2 separate regions of the Homo sapiens genome follow, and region 1 is linked to region 2. The links are contacts of gene promoters, found by promoter capture Hi-C in blood cells and fetal thymus (Javierre and others, 2016). All regions are on one chromosome and are shown on one strand. Each heading gives the region's core, a stretch centred on a gene start or on the middle of the fragment in contact. The rest is flanking DNA. Distances are from core to core; before and after follow the strand shown.

What was found. Contacts are between HindIII fragments. The CHiCAGO score rates a contact against its expected background, and 5 or more counts as called.
Region 1: a contact is called between a fragment that was not itself captured here and the fragment with the promoter of AEBP1 in region 2, in 2 of 17 cell types (M1 macrophages and endothelial precursors). The highest score is 6.2, in M1 macrophages.

Annotation. Positions count from the first base shown.
Region 1 is chr7:44,158,681-44,162,672 of GRCh38, reverse strand. The region is part of intron 1 of GCK (glucokinase); the gene reads left to right. Among named protein-coding and RNA genes, the nearest start is that of MYL7, 19 kb to the right of the region's middle. The HindIII fragment of the contact is 6,327 bases long and covers 1-3,992 here.
Region 2 is chr7:44,102,456-44,106,694 of GRCh38, reverse strand. It overlaps AEBP1 (AE binding protein 1), which reads right to left and starts at 2,350. Exons shown (of 21, transcript NM_001129.5): 1 at 1,777-2,350; 2 at 1-149. The coding sequence starts at 2,029. The HindIII fragment of the contact is 6,426 bases long and covers 617-4,239 here.

The DNA.
Region 1 (3,992 bases), core at 1,067-3,566, 56 kb before region 2:
TCAGTTTCCCTGCATATAAAATGACAGCCTTCAGCTCATCGGCCAGTTTCAATCCATCTAAAGGGTCTAGCACATCCCCTGGCATGTGGAAGCCACAGGGCACACACTAGTTGTGGTCATTTGATCCTGGCATGCTCTGCTGTCTCTCGGCTCTCCCCTTGCCTCTTTCCCTGATGTCCTGGCCATCAGCCACTGCCTAACACCCTCCCACTCACCAGGCCCTTAGCCTGCCCCTTAGCACAAGAGCACAGCCGGTCTCAAGTCTACCCTGCTGTAAGCAAACACTTGCAACATCATGCTGACCTCCAGGCCCTGTTGCATCAGCGTGCCCACACTTGGTGCCCAGCTGGTACTGAGGGTATCAGGGAACAGGCCAGTGGTGGAAGGGCGGACACTTTGGGTTCCCTGGTTTCCTGGCTCCCAATATCTTTCCCAATGGCATATGGGGTCTAGCAGCTTGGCTCATTTAACTGTGAACCTCTACCCTTTAGAATCTGGGCCTCCAGGCTTGCTTCTGTGCAAAATGGCAGATAAGGCTCAACCTTTCTTTTTTTAACTTCATTGTTAAATATTACTCCATTAATACCCATTTACTGCAGAAAAGGTAGGAAATACAGATAAGCAAAAAGGAAAATAAATTAAAATCCTCATACCACCATCATCAAGATAATTACTGTCACCATTTTGGTATATTTCCTCCCAATACATATATTATCTATATCGTATATACGACAAAAATGGATCATACTATGTTTCCTGTTCTTCCCCTGTGTTAGTCATCTATTGCTGTATAACAAACTGCCTCAAAACTTAGTGGCTTCACCTTTCCGTGTATTATGATGACAAGAATGTGGTATGACACTGTCTTATATCTGGATCATATGCTAAAAGATAGAAAATGGTTTCTAAACTTATTTGTTCTGTAATAACAAAATTTTATTTCATAAAGTGTTTTTAAAAAAAACCATAGTAGCTTGAAACAACAAACCTTTGTTATCTCACACAGTTTCTGTAGGTCAAGAATTCAGAAGCAGCTTAGCTGGGTGGTCTGGCTTGGTGTCTCTCCTGAGGTCAGGGTTTTGGCTGGGGCTGCATCACCTGAAGGCTTGACTGGGGCCAGAGGAGCTGCTTCCAAAGTGGTCCACTCACATGGCTGGCAAGTTGGAGTTGCGTATTGGCAAGAGACTTCGCTTCTTCTCAATGGATCTTCCCAGAGTTCTTGTAGGCAACCTCATAGCATAGCAGTTGGCTTCCCCCAGAGGGAACAGTCCAGGAGAGAACAAGGCAGAAACCACAGGGTCTTTTCTGGCTTAGGCTCCAAAGTCATACTCCACCATTTCTGCATTATCATATTAGTTACACAGGCTAGACCTATTCTGCATGGAAGAGACTATACCATGGGGTGAATACCAGAAGCAGGGCTAATTGAAGGCCAGCTTCAAGGGCGGCTACACATTCCCTTTCAACAGTATGTCATGAACATCTTTCCATGCCAATAGAGCAGATGAATCTTACCATTTTTAATGACTACATGTAAGTGTAGCATAATTTATTTAACCAACCTCCTGTAGTTGGGTATGTGGGTTGTGTCTCGTTTTTTGATAGTAGAATTAATCATCTTGAATATCCATCACCAAACTTGTCATATTATTTTCTTTTGATGAATGAAAAAGAAAATCAAGTCATGTCTGTCAATCAGAACCCTGAGCAACTAAGAAATGGGGGTACCACTGGGACATAGAGCAAGGTCCCTTCTGATTCTGCTCTTGTCTTTCTCTCCCCATGAAATGGGGAGTTCACTATCTACTGAGACATCCTAGCCCACAGCTGCACAGTTCTGTCTTTTTAGAAAGCTCTAAGCAGAAACAATGTTCATCCATCCTCCTCGGGACAGCCCTTGAGCTACTGAAGACTCTAAGCATGTCCTGGTCATCCTCCATGAGCCATCATCTCTGAGGCCCTCCCCTTCTTGGCCCCTCTTCTCTGGACAGGTTCTGGACAGTCTTGCCCTTCCAAAATTCCTGGAAAGCAGGAACTGTTCCTGCTACAATGACTCTCAACTCCAGTGCAGTACAGACTGTTGGTGTCACCCCTTATCCTGAAGAAGAGGCACTGAGACAGGACAAGGGTGGGTGCCCAGGAGGGCTGGCATGAGTCATGAGAATCTGGTCCCGGAGAATTAGACGGTGTGGGGAAGTAGGGGTGTTGGGCCGCTTTCTGGCCTCATGGATGCCAATGAATATCAGCAGGTGGCTCCCAGAAAGGAACTCTAGGGGATGCCTGTTGCTCTAAATAGAGGCTAGAGAGGGCACTGGCAGTTCAGTCAACCAAGAAAGGGGGCCCACTTGCCTCAGCTTCAGGCTTTGTACACATCCTCAGCCTTTCTTGAGAACTGAATTTAGATTCTCCTCCCCTGTGCTGTGTGCTTGGCCCAGAAGAAGGGCAAGTCTCGCTGGGTGGCTGCTTCTTGGCCTGGCTGAACCAGAAGGCCCCAGTGCCACTCCAAACCTGGGTGTGAGCCCTGCCCCCATGAGCAAACAGTAGCTCAGAGCTGGGGGCTGTGGGGGTCAGTGGCCTGTCACATGAGATCTGATGAGGCCATCTCTGCTCTATATTGGGAAAGGGATCAATTGTATCAAGGGCTTTCTTGGGAGTGATCACTCTGGCCATTGGCGAGAGACCTGGCATTCTGACAAGGCACCCTCCATACCCTGACCCACTTGCCAGCTCCAGCTAATTTTAGCAGGCTTTGGCAGGTGCCAGCAAGTACATAGCATGTGGATGTCACTCCCAGGTGAGCCCAAGGAGAGGCCTGGGCCAGAGCCTGGAAGTCATGGTCTATGCCCATGGAGGCACCCAAAGCAAGCCTGAGGCCTGGACTTTGCAGTCACAAAATTAAGAATGATACCCCTGTTTTTTGTTTGTTTTTGATCAGTTGGCCACCTTCCTCCACCACCCCTTCCCCAAGTTCCATACAGACCCCTGGATTGTATGAAATGCAAATCGAACCTCTCTGCAGATGAAAATCCACTGGGGATCCCCTTGCCTCCAAGAGCAAGTCCAGACCTGCACCAGCGCGGGCCAGGCCCCCTTAGGACCCCCTCCCTGTCCAAGGGCATTTCAGTAAGTGTTCTGTGGCCAAGGCAGCCTGGTGACTTTCTGCCCGCACAAGGCTGAGGAATGGAAGATGGGTAGGCTGGCTCTGCACACCCCCTCCTGCTGGGCAGCAATCCCTACCCCATGTTCACAGAGTGTGGCCGGCTGCCCCATGGCTCTGTCCCCGTGGCCCTGTCAACTGTTACCCACATGGCCTACCCTCCCTTTCTGCCCTGCCTCTGACCCCATGGCAGGGGGCAGAGTATTTGAGCAGCCGCCAGGCTGAGCCCTTTCAGTGCAGAAGCCCTGGGCTGCCAGCCTCAGGCAGCTCTCCATCCAAGCAGCCGTTGCTGCCACAGGCGGGCCTTACGCTCCAAGGCTACAGCATGTGCTAGGCCTCAGCAGGCAGGAGCATCTCTGCCTCCCAAAGCATCTACCTCTTAGCCCCTCGGAGAGATGGCGATGGATGTCACAAGGAGCCAGGCCCAGACAGCCTTGACTCTGGTAAGGGTCACACCAAAGTTAGGGACTTTGCACTGGGAGAGCAGCACCCAGGGCAGGGCCCTTGGTTTTGCAGATTACCAAAACTAAGGCTGGGGGCAGGGAAGGCGAGCAGGCTTGGGGCACCTTGGAAGGAGGCACATGGGCCTTGGGGGTCCTGGCTAGGGCAGCTGTGCCTGCCACTGGCCCTCTGCCCACCACCCCTCCTCACTGTGGCTATCCAGTGTCCAGCCTCTCGAGGGGTTCTAGGGTACTTATTCCTGGAGCTAACGGTGACCCAGGACACCAGTGTCCGGGGCCTGGCCTGGGGCTTTTATGGGGGGAGCTGGCTGGCTGCCCAGGGCTGTCTGGCTCTCTGGGGGCTCTGCATGGCATTTCCAGGGGTTGGTGGATCA
Region 2 (4,239 bases), core at 1,101-3,600:
CTTCTCCTTGGGCTTCTTGGTGGCCTTGGGTGGCTTCTCCTTCCCCTTCTTGGGCGGCCTGGGGGACCCCTCCAAGGACTCCTTGGGCACCTTGGGGCCTTTGTCTTTCTTGCCTTTCTTCCCTTTGTCTTTGGTCTTTTCCGGAGGCACTGTCCAAGATGCAGACTCGTGTCAAATGAACAGAGCCAGCTCTGTGCCCCCATGAGGCCCCTCTCTAGATGCCCAGAACCTGGGCACAGGGACTCTTGTCAGTTCCCAGTGCGGATCAGCAAACTGAGAGGTTAAGTCATTTGCCCAAGTGGCAAACTGGGATCCGGACCCAGATTTTCTGTCTGCAAGTCTGGGGCTGTGACCACCAATCTCAACCTCTCTAAAGACTGAGCGTAGGGTTCCCAGTTCCCAGGGGGAGGCCCTCATCCCCCCACCTGCCAAAACCTCAATAGGGGTTCCTTACTATCCACTCCTCCACTATTCTGTTCTGGGCACAGAAGGGGCAGAGAGGTGACTGAGCCATCCAGGCCTGGAGGAGCATCTGGTCATCCCTGCCAACTGCCATACAAAGGAAGGGACATGGGCCCAAGACCTTCCCCTGGTCTCCTACGGGGCAAGAAAAGCTTCAAAGAAAAGGGACACTTGGTTGAGTATTGAAGCCCAAAGAAGAGGAAGTGGTCTCCTTTCGAGAAGTAAGGGGTTTGGAATTGATTGGAAGGATAGGGAGTCCTGGGGGGTTCAGGGATCACACAGAGGACAGAAAAGACAGGTAGGGAGCTTGTGGCTGCACACTCATTTCAGAGTCTGGGAGAGGGAGCAGGGACTGGTTGTGAGGATTCCCCATGGGAATCCTCCCAGGACCCTAAGCAGGAGCTGCAAGTGCTGTTGAGAACCTGATGAGAGGTGGGGAGCATGAGGGAAGTTTGGCAGAAACACAGGAAAGCTACCAAATGCAGACAGCCAGGGGACGCAGGGCTGCTAGAGCGGTGCCCCAGAGCCAGGAGAGCAAGCCTGGAAGGAGAGCCAGAGGCAGGAGGGGCACAGGCAGCCCAGGGTGTGGGAAGCAGCCAGGAAAGATCTAGAGCTGGGGTGGCAGGGGAGGGGCTGCTGACATCAGGAATGTTGGATGGTGCCTTGGAATCTCCTGGGAGACAGGGATCACAAGACCCTCTGCCACCTTCCAGAGGGCCACGATGAAAACAGCTAAGATTTACTGACAACTGATTATGCAAGAGGCCGTGGGTTAAATGCTTCAGTGATGCATCACCTCATCTAATTTCCTGTACTAATGTAGGACCACCCATTGCTCACCACCACCTGAAGCCCTGTGCTCACCACCACCTGAAACTCTCTCACCTACGTGAGACCTCCTGGAGTAGGAGGGCAAAGGCAGGAGGGAGGGACGACGTGAAGCTGTGCCACCAACAGGGAGAGTGGTCCCATTAGTATGGCAGGGGGTGACACAGCACAGTCCCCTGTGGCTCAAGCCTAGTACCTGTCGCGTACTGGAGGAATGGGGATAAGCGACCCGTACAACCACAGCACCAACCCTAGAGCCACCGGCCCCCAAAAGCGGCCCTGCCGCCCGGGTGCTGGATGTGCCTCCACGCCAGCGCTGACCTCGGCCTAGCACAGGGTCCCTCCAGGCATCTGGGCTCGCGTGCGCATTAGTAAGCCAGCCATTCCTCCCCTAGCAGACTGGGGAGTGGCCAGACCCTACCGAATCCCCCTGTTCCCACCTGAGATGCCAGCCCCCCACACCCCCGCCCTGCCCTGGGCTCTTACCTTCTGCGGCCGTCCCTGGCCGCTTCCCTGGCTTGCCCCCCGCCTGGGCTTTTCGGACCCGCGGGGTGGGCTCGGGAGGCGGCGGGGCCTCCACGTCGTCCTCCCGGGGCTCAGGTTCTAGCTCTGACAGGAAGCCCTCGAGGAACTCCTCGATCTCGTCGTCGGTCAGCACCGTCTGCGGGCGCCCTCCAGGGCACAGGGCCAGCAACGCCAGGAGGCAGCTGAGCAGGGGCGCCCCGCGCACGGCCGCCATGGCCGCGGCACGCGCGGGGGGCTCCGGGGAGGGCGCGGGGGGTCAGGGGCTCTGGGTCTCTGGGAAAGGGCGGAGAGGGGATCGAGACGGGTGAGGGAATCCAGGAAGGGGCGGGAGAGAGGATGGGGTGAGCGAGGGAATCCGGGAAAGGGAGGGAGAGTGGATTAGGGTGGGCGAGGGGACCCGGGAAGGGGTGCTGGGGGGCTCCGAAGCCAGAGGGGCTCAGGGGTGGTCGGGGCGCTCCGAGGTCCTGGCGGCTAATAGGCGCTCCGGCCCCGCGTGGCGCACTCCCGCGCGGATAGCCGTCTCCAAAGCGCTGGCGGGGCCCGGGGCGGGGGCGCCGGGGCTTCCGGAGCCGGCTCCCCACCCCCGGGGAGGAGGAGGAGGAAGAGAAGGAGGAGCCGAGAGTGGACGGAGGGGCTGCGGGGGGGCGGGGGGCGGGGGGCGGGGGGCTAGGGGCGGGGCAGGCGGGCGGGCGCTGGCGGCGAGCGTCCCAAGCCCGGAGACTTGCGCCTAGGACAGAGGGGCAGGGGGCGGGGCGACTGGGAAGACAGAGGGCCTGAGGGAAGGAAAGGTGGTGGGGAGGGCCTGGGGTGCGGGTCTGAGGGGGCCGACATCCCTCCTCCTTCTGCCCTAGGCACCCCCCTTAAGGCGGGACCCCGAGTCCACCGGGGCTCTGAGCCCTCCGCGGGTGACCAGGAACCCTGGACGGAAAGCCGTGGTGTCAGGCCTCTGAGACCTCTCTCAATTCGGAGGGCCACAGAAAGGCCACCCCATCCTTCCCAGGCTCTGGAGCCTCTGCCCATGGGCCCTGCTGCATCCCAGCGTCAATTCATTCAGTCATCCTACCAACCTCTTCAGGTCGGTGTGGGGCCGGGCCCCGTGCTGGGCCCCAGGGAGGGACAGCACAGTGGGAACTCACTTTCCAGCCAGGAGGCAGGTGCAAAACTGCCCTCAGAGTGGCCAGCTGCCCCGCTGGGGGTAGGAGTCCCATGTAAGGGCATGCCATCCCTCCCCTCCGGGTCCCAACGTGGACAAATAGCCATTTATCACCTTCTTCTTACCAGAACTCATTTTTTAAAAAGTGTCTACCATACCTCCAGCTGCCACATGGACCCAGAGGGCCCAGAGGACCCAGAAGGCAGGTGGATTGAGTGTCAACTGATCCCAGGATCCATCAGGGATGTGCACCTTGGTGCCTGGTGTTTGCCATAAGGCTTCTCCAGGGCAAATGTTGGCTGCCCTACAACGGCCATCAACAGGCAGAGTGGTCCCATTAGTATGGCAGGGCGTGACACAGCACAGTCCCCCGTGACTCAAGCCTAGTCCCTGTCTCATACTGGAGGAATGGGGAGCTAAGGACAGAGCTCCGAGGACATTCCCCCTTAAAGGAATGAGGACACAAGAGAAAGCTCACAGGTAGTCCATGGGCCAAGTGCAGAGGCAGACAGCCCTAAGCCACGATTGTCTGCGGGGTTTGGCCCCAGTGAAGTAGTCAGGTAGGGAAGCCTAGGAGCCCCTGGGATGATTGACAGGGCAGAGTTTGGACCTGGGGTCAAAAGGAAAGAGGAAAAGTGGGTCAGGAAGCACCTGGGTCCCCAGAGCAGCCCCGAGTGAGTTGGAGCAGGCAGCAGCCGGGGAGGCCACAGTGGAGGCTGCTGGGCCTGGGATACATGCCACCCCCTGGGAGCAGGACCACAAGGAGGCCTTGCCTCCTCTCACACCTGGTCCTGCCAAGACCCTGCCTTTGCTTTCTCACTGCATCTCCTTGAAAAAGCAGTGGGACTGTGTCAGGTTCTGGCTCTACCTCCCAGGCACCACATCTCGGCAGGTAGCCTCAGTGCCGTCCACCTGTGTCCCTGTTCTCCTTGTCGTTCATACAGGATCATGCATGTGCTGTGCCTAGCACACATTCTTGGCACTCACACTGCTGCCTTTTAGCTCTCATCATTTGCCCTCAGAGATCAACCTGAGCTGTGCCCACTGGGGCGCTCAGAGCAGACCCTGAGCCCCAACACCCAGGCTCCCTGTGCACCTGAGCCTGCCTCTGCCTGCCACGTGCCCCCAGGCCAGTCCTGGTGGCAGCAAGGATCCGCAAGCTCTCCCCTTTCCTCATCCTCTGCAAAGCTCTGAATCATCTTTCTCAAAACTTGTTCTGGGAATTTGCTCCGTTGCCCCAGTTGAGCATGTCAAGCCCGGCGGCCCAAGGC